3 separate regions of the Homo sapiens genome follow, and regions 1 and 2 are each linked to region 3. Evidence: promoter capture Hi-C in human tissues and cell types (Jung and others, 2019). All regions are on one chromosome and are shown on one strand. The core of a region is centred on a gene start or on the middle of the fragment in contact, and the rest is flanking DNA. Distances in the headings are between cores, read along the strand shown. Region 1 has its middle 19 kb from the start of LINC01372. Region 2 has its middle 41 kb from the start of LINC03011. Region 3 holds the start of TMEM248 (transmembrane protein 248).

Region 1 (3,956 bases), core at 432-2,931, 400 kb after region 3:
TGAATAGGGAGGCCTGAGGAGAGAGACAGAGACAGGGAAGCTTGTTGGTAGGGTAGTCAGAACACAGACAACATTTGTTAAGTTTGCCATCTTATATGGGCATGGTTCGTGGTACCCCAAAACAGTTATAGTAGTAACATCAGGCTGGGTGTGATGGCCCATGCCTGTAATCCCAGCATTTTGGGAGGCCAAGGCGGGTGGAGACCTTGAGGTCAGGACTTCAAGACCAGACTGGGCAACATGGCAAAACCCCTTCTCTACAAAAAAATACAAAAATTACTGGGGCATGGTGATGCATGCCTGTAGTTGCAGCTACTTGGGAGGCTGAGGTGGGGGGGATCACTTGAGCCCAGGAGGTTGAGGCTGCAGTAAGCCGTGTTTGCACCATTGCACTCCAGCCTGGGTGACAGAATGAGAACCTGCCTCTGACAAAAAAAAAAAAAAAAAAAAAAAGTTATTTTTCTCCACTAAGACTTGGAATGGTTTGCTGGGTAGCAATGGATATAGCTGACACATCCCCACATCCCTCACCTTCTCTCACTATGTGGGGTGTACCCAGTCTCTGGCTTCTAATGTCGAGGGCCTCCAACTTGACACTTCTAGCTCAGAGTATGTTCTTAAGGCCTTGCCTCACTTATAGAACTTCCTAGTGGTTAGCTATGATGCATGGCAAACACATCTGACAACAGTAACATCAGCATACCTTGAAAATGACCCCATGGTCTTAAGAAGAGTATGTGTTGAAAATTCTAAGCTAAGGAATCCAGGAGTGGCCAACCCAGAGATTCATTTCTTATCTGTGAGGAACATCTGAACCCCTGGACCATCTAGGGGATGGTGGCCTTTGTTTGGGGTTCAGTGAAGGTTTGCCAGAGGGAGGGTGCTAGGGGGAGGGTGCTAAGTGGAAATGCTCTATAAACTGCATGCTTTTTTTTTTTTTTTTTTTTTGAGACAGAGTCTTGCTCTGTCACCCAGGCTGGAGTGCAGTGGCACAATCTCGGCTCACTGCAAGCTCTGCCGCCTGGGTTCACACCATTCTCCTGCCTCAGCCTCCCGAGTAGCTGGGACTACAGGCACCTCCCACCACGCCTGGCTAATTTTTTGTATTTTTAGTAGAGATGACGGGGTTTCACCATGTTAGCCAGGATGGTCTCAATCTGACCTTGTGATCCGCCCACCTTGGCCTCCCAAAGTGCTGGGATTACAGGCGTGAGCCACCACGCCCGGCCCAACTGCATGCTTTTTGTAAGCAGGTGTGATTCTCCTGTTCCACCTGCCATGTCTGGACTACCCTGTAAGTCCCCTTAATAAACCCTATGTCTTGCCTGCTGGCCAGGCATGATGGCTCATGCCTGTAATCCAAGGACTTTGGGAGGCCAAGACAGGCAGATCACTTGAGGTCAGGAGCTTGAGACCAGCCTGGCCAACATGGTGAAAACTCCATCTCTACTAAAAATACAAAAAAAAAATTAGCTGGGTGTTGTGGCATGCACCAATAATCCCAGCTACTTAGGGGGCTGAGGTAGAAGAATCTCGAACCGGGGAAGCAGAGGTTGCAGTGAGCCGAGATCACGCCATTGCACTCCAGCCTGGGCAACTAGACTCTGTCTCAAAAGACAAACAAACAAACAAAAACAGACCAGGCACAGTGGCTCATGCCTGTAATTACAGCACTTAGGGAGGCAGAGGCAGGTGGATCGTCTGAGGTCAGAAATTTGAGACCAGCCTGGTCAACATCGTGAAACCCTGTCTGTACTAAAAATACAAAAATTAGCAGGGCATGGTAGTGAGCGACTGTAATCTCAGCTACTCGGGAGGCTGAGGCAGGAGAATTGCTTGAACCCGGGAGTTGGAGGTTGCAGTGAGCTGAGATTGAACCACTGACTCCAGCCTGGGCAGTAGAGTGAGACTCCATCTCGAAAAAACAAAACAAAACAAACACAACAGAAATGAGAAAACAAAACCCGGCCAGGTGCGGTGGCGCAACACCTGTAATCCCAGGACTTTGGAAGTCCGAGGCAGGTGGATCACGAGGTCAGGAGTTTGAGACCAGCCTGATCAACATGGTGAAACCCTAGCTCCACTAAAAATACAAAAAACAGCTGGGCATGGTGGCAGGCGCCTGTAATCCCAGCTACTCAGGAGGCTGAGGCAGGAGTATCGCTTGAACCTGGGAGGCAGAGGTTGCAGTGAGCTGAGATTGTACCACTGCACTCCAGCCTGGGTGACGGAGCAAGACTCCGTCTCAAAAAAAAAAAAAAAAAAGAAGAACAGAATGTTCTAGGCATTTTAAAAATACATTTTATTTATTTTAGTATGTATTCATTTATTTTTGAGATGAAGTCTGGCTCTCTTGCCCAGGTTGGAGTGCAGTGGCGAGATCTCGGCTCACTGCAACCTCTGCTTCCTGGGCTCAAAGCACCCTCCCACTTCAGCCTCCTGAGTAACTGGGACTACAGGTGCCTGCCACCATGCCTGGCTAACTTTTGTATTTTTTGTAGAGATGAGGTTTCGCAATGTTGCCTAGACTGGTCTCCAACTCCTGGGCTCAAGTGATTCTCCTGCCTTGGCCTCCCCAAATGCTGGGATTACCGGTGTACCCACCACACCTGGCCTCTGGGCAGATTTTTATGTTTTTATTTTTAATTTTTAATGGTTTTTTTTGGTATCTAAAATACCAAAATGCCATTCTGTCACCCAGGCTGGAGTGCAGTGGCATGATCTTGGCTCACTGCAACCTCCGCCTCTTCGTTTCAAGCAATTCTCCTGCCTCAGCCTCCTGACTACAGACACGTGCCACTGTACCTGGATAATTTTGTATTTTTAGGAGAGATGGAGTTTCACCATGTTGGCCAGGCTGGTCTCAAACTCTTGACTTCAAGTGATCTGCCTGCCTCGGCCTCCAAAACTGCAGGGTTTACAGGCCTGAGCCACTGTGCCCAGCCTAGGATTTCTTTGTCTTCTTCCAGTAAGTGTTAGTTCAAGCTCTCCTCTCCCCACTGTTGTTTCTTATCAAGGCCCTCAGCAATCTTCTAAAAACCATATTATAGATCTAAAATTGCTTTTCAATTCTGGAATTCAAAAAGGTCTGGAGGCTGGGCGAGGTGGCTCACTCTGGTAATCCCAGCAGTTTGGGAGGCTGAGGCAGGAGGAGGGCTGGAAGTCAGGTGTTCAAGACCAGCTTGAGCAACATAGCAAGATCCTTGTCTCTACATCTCTACAAACAAAAAATTAGCTGGGTGTGGTGGCATTCACATGTAGTTTCAGCTATTCAGGAGGCTGAGGCAGGAGGATTGTTTGAGCCCAGGAGTTCGAGGATGCAGTGAGTTATGATTGCACCACTGCACTCCAGCCTGGGTGACAGAGTGAGACTCTCTCTCTTAAAAAAAGAGGAGGCATGGGTGGGCATGGTGCTCACGCCTGTAATCCCAGCTCTTTGGGAGGCCGAGGTGGGCGGATCACTTGAGCTCAGGAGTCCAAGACCAGCCTGGCCAACATGGTAAAACCCCGTCTCTACTAAAAATACAAAAATTAGGCAGGCTTGGTGGTGGGCACCTGTAATCCCAGCTACTAGGGAGGCTGAGGCAGGGGGATAGCTTGAACCTGGGAGGTTGCAGTGAGCCGAGATGGTGCCTCTGCACTCCAGCCTGGGTGACAGAGTGAGACCCTGTCTCAAAATTAAATAAATAAATAAATGAAATAAAACTGTGGACCTCCGTACCATAGACTCTGCAGCCATGAAAAGTGAGGAAGCCTTCCTGCACCCACAGAGGCCAATCTCCAAGATATATCATTAGTGAGAAAAGTGAGGTGCTGAACAGTGTAAATGGCATACAGTTTGTGTAAAAATAATTATATGGCCAGGCACGGTGGCTCACCCCTGTAATCCCAGCACTCTGGGAGGCCGAGGTGGGCGGATCACGAGGTCAGGAGATCGAGACCATCCTGGCTAACAC
Region 2 (3,952 bases), core at 858-3,357, 390 kb before region 3:
GTGCTACCATGTCCAGCTCATATTTTATTTTTTATTTTTGTAGAGATAGGCTGGAGTGCAGTGACACTATCACATAGCTCACTGTAGCCTCCAACTCCTAGGTTCAAGCAATCCTCCCGCATCAGCCTCCCGAGTAGCTGGGACTACAGCCAGGTGCCACTGCACCAGCTACTCTTAAATTTTTTGTAGACAGAGTCTCTATATGTTGCTCAAGGCTCGTCTCCAACTCCTGTCCTCAAGTGATCCTCCTGCCTTGGCCTCCCAAAGTGGTAAGATTACAGGCGTGAGCCACCACACCAGGCTCACAGGTTAATTTTTTTTAATTATTTTACTGTGTATGTTTGCCTAAACAAAAATTATTTCATTTTGCTTATAATTTTACTTTTTTTTTTTTTTTTGAGATGGAGTCTCGCTCTGTCACCCAGGCTGAAGTTGTGTGATCTCAGCTCACTGCAACCTCCACCTCCGGGGTTCAAGTGATTCTCTGGCCTCAGCCTCCCAAGCAGCTGGGACTATAGGCGCCTGCCACCATGCCCAGCTTATTTTTTGTATTTTTAGTAAAGACAGGGTTTCACCGTGTTAGCCAGGATGGTCTCCATCTCCTGAACTCATGATCCACCTGCCTCGGCCTCCCAAAATGCTGGGATTACAGGCGTGAGCCACCGCGCCCAGCCTATAATTTTACTTTTATAACAAAGGCATGTTACTGAATAGAATCTGGGTCTTGCTGTTTACCACTTAGCTCTGGTTGACATAATGTCAAAGTGTGTAGCTGTAGCCTCTTAGTTCTCATGGCTCTATAATCTTCCATTGAGTGGAATTTTACCATGATGCAATTCCTCACTCTCCTCTCCTTGGGGATTGGGCTGCTTCCATTGTTTTGCTGTTACTAAGAATGCAATTAACACTTATAGCCGGGCGTGACGGCTCATGCCTGTAAACCCAGCACTGTGGGAGGCCGCAACCGGAGGATCCCTTGAGCTCAGGAATTTGAGACCGGCCTGGGCAACATGGCAAGACCCCATCTCTACTAAAAACACAAAAAAATTAGCCAGGCATGGTGGCACGCTTGCTACTCAGGAGGCAGAGGTCGCAGTGAGCTGAGATCATGCCACTGCACTCCAGCCTGGGCAACAGAGCGAGATCCTGTCTCAGAAAAAAAAAAAAAAAAAAAAAAGCAACGGAAGAGAAGCATAGATCCATTAAAAAGTTTAAGGCCCAGCCTGGTGGCTTACGCCTGTAATCCCAACACTTTGGGAGGCCGAGGGGGAAGGACTGCTTGAGGCCAGGAGTTTGAGATCAACCTGGGCAATGTAGCAAGATCCTGTCTCTACAAAAATTTTAGAATTAGCCAGACGTGGTGGTGTGCACCGGTAGGCCCACATACTCAGGAGACTGAGGCAGGAGGATGAGGTCAAGGCTTCAGTGAGCTAGGATCGCACCACTCCATGGGTGACAAAATGAGTCTACATCTCTAAAAACATAATTTTTGAAAAGCAGAGGAAGAAGGCCGGGTGCAGTGGTTCACGCCTATAATCCCAACACTTTGGGAGGCCGAGGTGGGTGGATTGCTTGAACCCAGGAGTTCAAGACCAGCCTGGGCAACATGGTGAAAACCCATCTCTACTAAAAATAGAAAAATTAGCCAGGCATGGTGGTGCACGCCTGTAATCCCAGCTACTCGGGAGGCTGAGGCAGGAGAACCACTTGAACCCGGGAGGCAGAGGTTGCAGTGAACTGAGATAGTGCCACTGCACTCCAGCCTGGGCAACAGTGAGAGTCCATCTGAAAAAAAATAAAATAAAATGCAGAGGAAGAGAAGTGGAGATTCCCCCATTCCAGCAGCCTCCTTCCCACCCACACTGGAGTTTTGGATTTGGGGGTTTGATGGCTCTGGCATGTCTAGGCCCTAGAGGGGTTCAGAAGGAGGGGTCTTGGGGACACAGAGAGTACTTCAACAATCCCACTTTAAGACAGTTCCCTTTGGGCCGGGCACAGTGGCTCACACCTGTAATCCTAGCACTTTGGGAGGCCGAGGCGGGCAGATCAACTGAGGTCAGGAGTTCGAGACCAGCCCAGCCAACATGGTGAAACCCCGTCTCTACTAAAAATACAAAAATTAGCTGAGTGTGGTGGCTTGTGCCTGTAGTCTCAGCTACTCGAGGGGCTAAGGCAAGAGAATTGCTGGAACCTGGGAGGTGGAGATTGCAGTGAGCCCAGATCATGCCGCTGCACTCCACCCTAAGCGACAGAGCGAGACTCCATCTCAAGAAAAAAAAGACAGTTCCCTTTGTAAAATGGGTCAAGGCTTAAGGGCCCCTCCTGCACGCAGTGTCCAGGCTCAGCCAGGTCTGATGGCAGAAGCAACACAGACTCATGATCATTGGCCTGGGCACAGGTCTCTGCCACGGGCACAGGTCTCTGCCCCACTGCAGCTTGGCCCTCCTCTCTCCAGGCCTCAGTTACCTCATCCATGAAATGGAGCTGAAGGAATTCCTGCTAAACCTGTGCACAGGCCCTACAAGCAGTTAAATGCTGAACCTGAATGTACCTTTTTTATTTTTTCAAGACTGAGTCTCACTCTGTCACCCAGGCTGGAAAGCAGTGGTGCAATCGCTGCAGCCATGAACTCTGCCCCGGCCTGGCAGTGAGTTGGGGCTCTGTGAAATGGTTCAGGAGGGGAGAGGAAGGCTATTATCCCACGCTTCTGCTACAGATCGCAGTCTCTCCCCTCTAAACCGCCCTTGCCCTTCGCTGGCTGCGTCTCCCTGCTGTGAATGGTCGTAATTACCAATACGAGATCGTCAGTCTGAGCTAAAGACCTCTAACTAGGCAGGGAGAGGCCAAGGCTGGCCAAGGCTCTTGCACTTTGCCCCAGGAGAGAGCCACAGAGCCAGCCCAGGCATCACCCCAGCCAGTTGGTTTAAAATTGTGTACATAGCATGGCTGTGATTCAGTGAGCTTGGTTGTCTTTTTTTTCCCCCTTCGCAAAATTCAGTTACTCCTTGGGCTAACAGACAGCAGGTTGGAAAAGATAAGCTGAGAGTTGCCCAGGCAGTGTTAAAGAGAGAGGAGACCGAAGAACAGCATGAGCAGGAAGGGGCAGGAGAAATGTCAAGGGAAGGCCTGTCCACCAAAGGCGTCACTGTCCAGGGGCAGTGGGCAGGAGGTCACTGCTGCAGGGATGGGTTCTTTCAGCAGGACTTTCTGCACAGCACTAGGGGCAGACCATGAGGTGAACCCCCACACACACTGAGTCCTAACTATGACATTTCCAAACAGAACACTCTGAAATGTTTGCAGCCGTGGGTGTCATTTACAGCCAGCCTGGGTTCAGGAAAGCTCAGGCAGGTGCCCCCAAGAATAGGTTTGCTGACTTGGCATTCAGGACAGTAAACTAAACCCACTCCCCTGACCCCCCTTTTTTTTTTTTTGAGATGGAGTTTTGCTCTTGTTGCCCAGGCTGGAGCACAGTGGTGCAATCTCGGCTCACTGCAACCTCCGCCTCCCAGGTCCAAGCGATTCTCCTGCCTCAGCCTCCCAAGTAGCTGGGATTACAGGCACCCGCCACCACGCCCAGCTAATTTTTTTGTATTATTAGTAGAGATGAGGTTTCACCATGTTGGCCAGTCTGGTCTTAAACTCCTGACCTCTGGTGATATGCCCACTTCAGCCCCACAAAGTGCTGGGATGACAGGCGTGAGCCACTGCACGCCTGCCCATTGCTGCTCTACAGATGAGGACATAGAGTGGTTCAGGGACTTGCCCAGGGTCGCGAGCTGATAGCAGAGCTGGGATTTGAACCCAGGCAATCAGTCTTGGGTAGACCATTGGGCTTGTGGCCCTGGCCTTGCAGGGCCTGGTATTGCGCCTGCCCCTGCAGTGTTCTCAGCAGCTCTCTGAGGCGGTTCTCTGATCCGTGTTTTTCCCGTGAGCAGATTAGACTCAGAGG
Region 3 (3,799 bases), core at 1,228-3,727:
TGATAACTCTATGTTAAACTTTTTGAGAAATTGCCAGATTGTTGTTTAAAAGTGGCTGCACCATGTAATCTTTTTTTAAAAAAAGAATTTTACAATCCAGCTGGACATGGTAGCTCACACGTATAATCCCAGCTCTTTGGGAAGCTGAGTAAGGAGGATTGCTTAAGGCCAGAAGCTCAAAACCAGCTTGGGCAACACAGTGAGACCTTGTCTCTATTTAAAAAGGTTTCTTTTTTTTTTTTTTTTTTTTTACTGGACTCGGGCTCACACCTGTAATCCCAACAGTTTGGGAGGCCAAGGTGGGCAGATCACTTGAGGCCAGGAGTTCGTGACCAGCCTGACCAACATGGCAAAACACCTTCTCTACTAAAAATACAAAAATTAGCGGGGCGTGGTGGCATGCGCCTGTAATCCCAGCTACTCAGGAGGCTGAGGCAGGAGAATCGCTTGAACCCAGGAGGCAGAGGTTGCAGTGAGCCAAGATCGTGCCACTGCACTCCAGCCTGGGCGACAGAGCGAGACTCCATCTCAAAACAAAAACAAAAATTTTTTTTGAAATCCCATACAAGGCAGCTAGGATGAAAGGTTTGAGGTTGCCTTTTTTACATTCTCCTACGGTCTCAATCACTAAGTCATATATGGTGCCATTGGTGGTGGGGCTCCTTTAATTACATTATCAGTCCTAGCCTGGTAAGGGACATCTCATTAGGAAGTTTGGTTCCATCATTATATACACAATTCAATACTGCCTGCACTTGCAGATAATGTCACACCCATTACAACAAGGAAGATAATTCAAATGGTGCAAGATAACAAAAGAGGGCAAGAATCATGGAAATAAGAGGGTATTCAGTGAAGGAACTGAGCCATTGTGTTGAACATTACAGGCTTCACCTGATAAACTTTTGTTAAAGATGGCTGGGTGTGGTGGCTCATGCCTGTAATCCCAGCACTTTGGGAGGTGGAAGTGAGCGGATCACTTGAGCCCAGGAGTTTGAGACCAGCCTGAGCAATTTGGGGGAAACCCCATTTCTGTGAAAAATATGAAAATTAGCTGGGCACGATGGTGCACATCTGTGGTCCCAGCTACTCAGGAGGCTGAGACAGGAGGATCACTTCAGCTTGGGAGGCCGAGTCTGCAGTGAGCCATGATCATGCGACTGCACTCCAGCTTGGGTGACAGAGCAAGACCTTGTCTCAAAAGCAAGAACAACAAAACTTTATTACCTTTAAAGCACCCTGTACTCCTCCCCCATCCCATTCCCCTAACACTTAACATGAAGTTTATACATCTTTTTCTCATGCTTCATGTCAGTTCAAACAATTATGTATGCATCTCTAAACAATATGTTATGAACTTGCCTGTTTTGAATTTTACATAATGGAAATATGTAGCAGTGTACCATTTTGTGATTTGGTCCCTGCCAATATAGTCTGCAATTGACTACCATAATTGTGTGAGCTGTATTAAATAATTTTCACTGGTCTTTTGTACCCGATTAAACACGAAGATGGGCCAGGCGTGGCAGCTCACACCTGTAATCCCAGATCCTCCCGAGGTGGGAGGATCACTTGGGTCCAGTAGTTCGAGACCAGCTTGAGTAACATAGGGAGACCCTGTCTCTACAAAAACAAACCAAACCATGAATATATCAAAGTTGGTTTTTACATTTGACTGTATGGACATCTGCTTTTTCTCCCCAATTTTTAGTGAGTCATACTGCTGCTAAAAACATTGGTGTTGCTATGAGCATTATTTTGTCTACTTGTGCATAGGTGCAACTGTTTCTCCAGGGTAATATATTCTCAAGAGAGGATGTGTATATCTTTAAGTGTACTGCATAATGCCAAATTACTTTGCAAAGTGATTGTACAAAATTATACTTTAAAAATTTTCATTTTCATTTTATTTTATTTATAAATAGAGTCAGAGACTCCCTATGTTACCCAGGCTGGTCTGGAACTCCAGGACTCAAGCGATCCTCCTGCCTTGGCCTCCCAAAGTGCTGAGATTACAGGCCTGAGCCACCGCGCCTGGTCCAAAATTACATGTTTATCAGCAGTGATTAATATACAAGCACATCAACAGACACACGCATAGCACACACATGAGCATGCACACGTGTGCGCACTCCCTACACATCTACGCATGCACACACCCATACCATCACACACCACACACGCGCACACAGATGCACATACATGCACTCACTGCACACACCGTTGTACACGATGCACACTACAAGCCACATACACGCACTACGCACACACGCACACGCACAACACCAGACCGGCACACAGACCCATAAACGTCCATCACGCACTCCACGCACGTCCGCATGCACGCTACCCGTCCCGGAAGCGTGGTCTCCGCCGCCTGCCTCTGACGAAGCTTGTCCCGGCCGCGCCACCGTCGGACGCCCGGGGTCGGAGGTCACGGCGGCGTTGGAGGTGGCGTGGTTTTTTTTTTTTTTTTCACCCGGAAACCGCGGTTGCCGGAGCCCGAACTGAGGCGGCGGCGGGAGCCCGGTTGGCGTCTGGTCTTCGCGTCGGCCCCGCGGAGCCAGACGCTGCCCCCGGCGCGGGGAGAAGATGGTGCCTAGCGGCCTCGGGCCCGCCACGCGCCGCCACGAGTGAGCCCAGCGCGACCGCGGGCGTCCGCCGAGCAGCTGGCCCGGCTGGGCCCGGGGCGCGCAGCTGCCCGCCGGGGCGGGGTGAGCCGGGGCTGGAGGGCGGGCTGGGGTCGGGCCCAGTCGGGGCTGCCCGCGGGGCCGGGAGCGGGGAGCGTGCTGGTCGGGAGCGGCTCCTCCGCCGGCTTTTTTCACCGCTTCTCAGGGTGCAGACCCCGCCCCAACTGCTGGCGGGGGTCGCCCAGCATCGGCCGACCTCGGCCTGGTCCCCCCACACTGGGGTTTGCCCACTCGCGTCCCCCGAGCCAGGGTTCCCTGCCGGCCTTGGAGATGGCGGGACTTCCCACGTCTGGAGCCGAGGCCTGGATAATTCGGATTTGGCACGGGAAACATCTTGGTCGTTTGCCATTTTTCGGCTTTGGGGAGTGTTTGCGTTTCTTCTCCGTTTGGCAGTGAAACACATCTCAGAAAGGTGGGAGGGAGAGACTCACGTACGTCCACAAAGTTAAATGGCATAGTGGTGTTCCCTGTGTCAAGCTTGGTAAATATCCGGAATGGGGTGGATTCTTTCTTCATGTTTTTAATAAAATGAGGAGTGATCGCAAGGTAATCTAGAGGCATGTAGTTTCAGTTCCCTTGATGGGGACCATCAGAAATAAAACCAGGCTTGTTGTGCTGTTTTGAGTCGTTTGAACGCCGTACCCATCGGACAGCTGGTGAGGAGGCCTTTGTGGAAGAATCTGATGTCTGAGTTTAGTTCTCAACTAGCAGGTGACAGCCCTCACTGGCTGATGAATGGTGAGCTTCTCTGAAGCCTGCTTTGTAAAGATTGTGGCTTCCGCCTGAACTGCTTCTTTCCTGCCTCAAAGGTGAGCCGCTACGGGAGGGAATGGGAAGAAAAACTCCGAGACTGCTGATGAATATGTGATAAAGTGGTTTGTCTCGATAGCACCATCAGCTTGGGTCAGCTTAGGGTCTCAGCATGTGTATCTCATTTGTAGATGAGTGTTCCATCAGCGCTTGACCGATAAGGGTGTCCATCTACTTCCTCTTTTCATCTAGGGATTCTGACAGGAAATAGACCTGTCGCGCACCTAAGGTATACTTAGGTGTGCATTGACCCTAAGTGCATTTACTCTCTAGGATTAAGGATTTGGAGTTTCAACTTG

The links. Contacts are between HindIII fragments. The study calls those that stand out against the background at their distance.
Region 1: a contact is called between a fragment that was not itself captured here and the fragment with the promoter of TMEM248 in region 3, in 1 of the 25 tissues and cell types used here (spleen).
Region 2: a fragment that was not itself captured here is called in contact with the fragment with the promoter of TMEM248 in region 3 in 1 of the 25 tissues and cell types used here (spleen).

What each region holds. Positions count from the first base shown.
Region 1 is chr7:67,314,586-67,318,541 of GRCh38, forward strand. It overlaps the pseudogene STAG3L4. Among named protein-coding and RNA genes, the nearest start is that of LINC01372, 19 kb to the right of the region's middle. The HindIII fragment of the contact is 8,480 bases long and covers 1-3,956 here.
Region 2 is chr7:66,533,129-66,537,080 of GRCh38, forward strand. It overlaps the pseudogene LOC100420547 and the pseudogene RABGEF1P1. Among named protein-coding and RNA genes, the nearest start is that of LINC03011, 41 kb to the left of the region's middle. The HindIII fragment of the contact is 8,360 bases long and covers 1-3,952 here.
Region 3 is chr7:66,918,748-66,922,546 of GRCh38, forward strand. It overlaps TMEM248 (transmembrane protein 248), which reads left to right and starts at 2,478. Exons shown (of 7, transcript NM_017994.5): 1 at 2,478-2,714. RefSeq lists a silencer at 2,520-2,769. The HindIII fragment of the contact is 13,933 bases long and covers 1-3,799 here.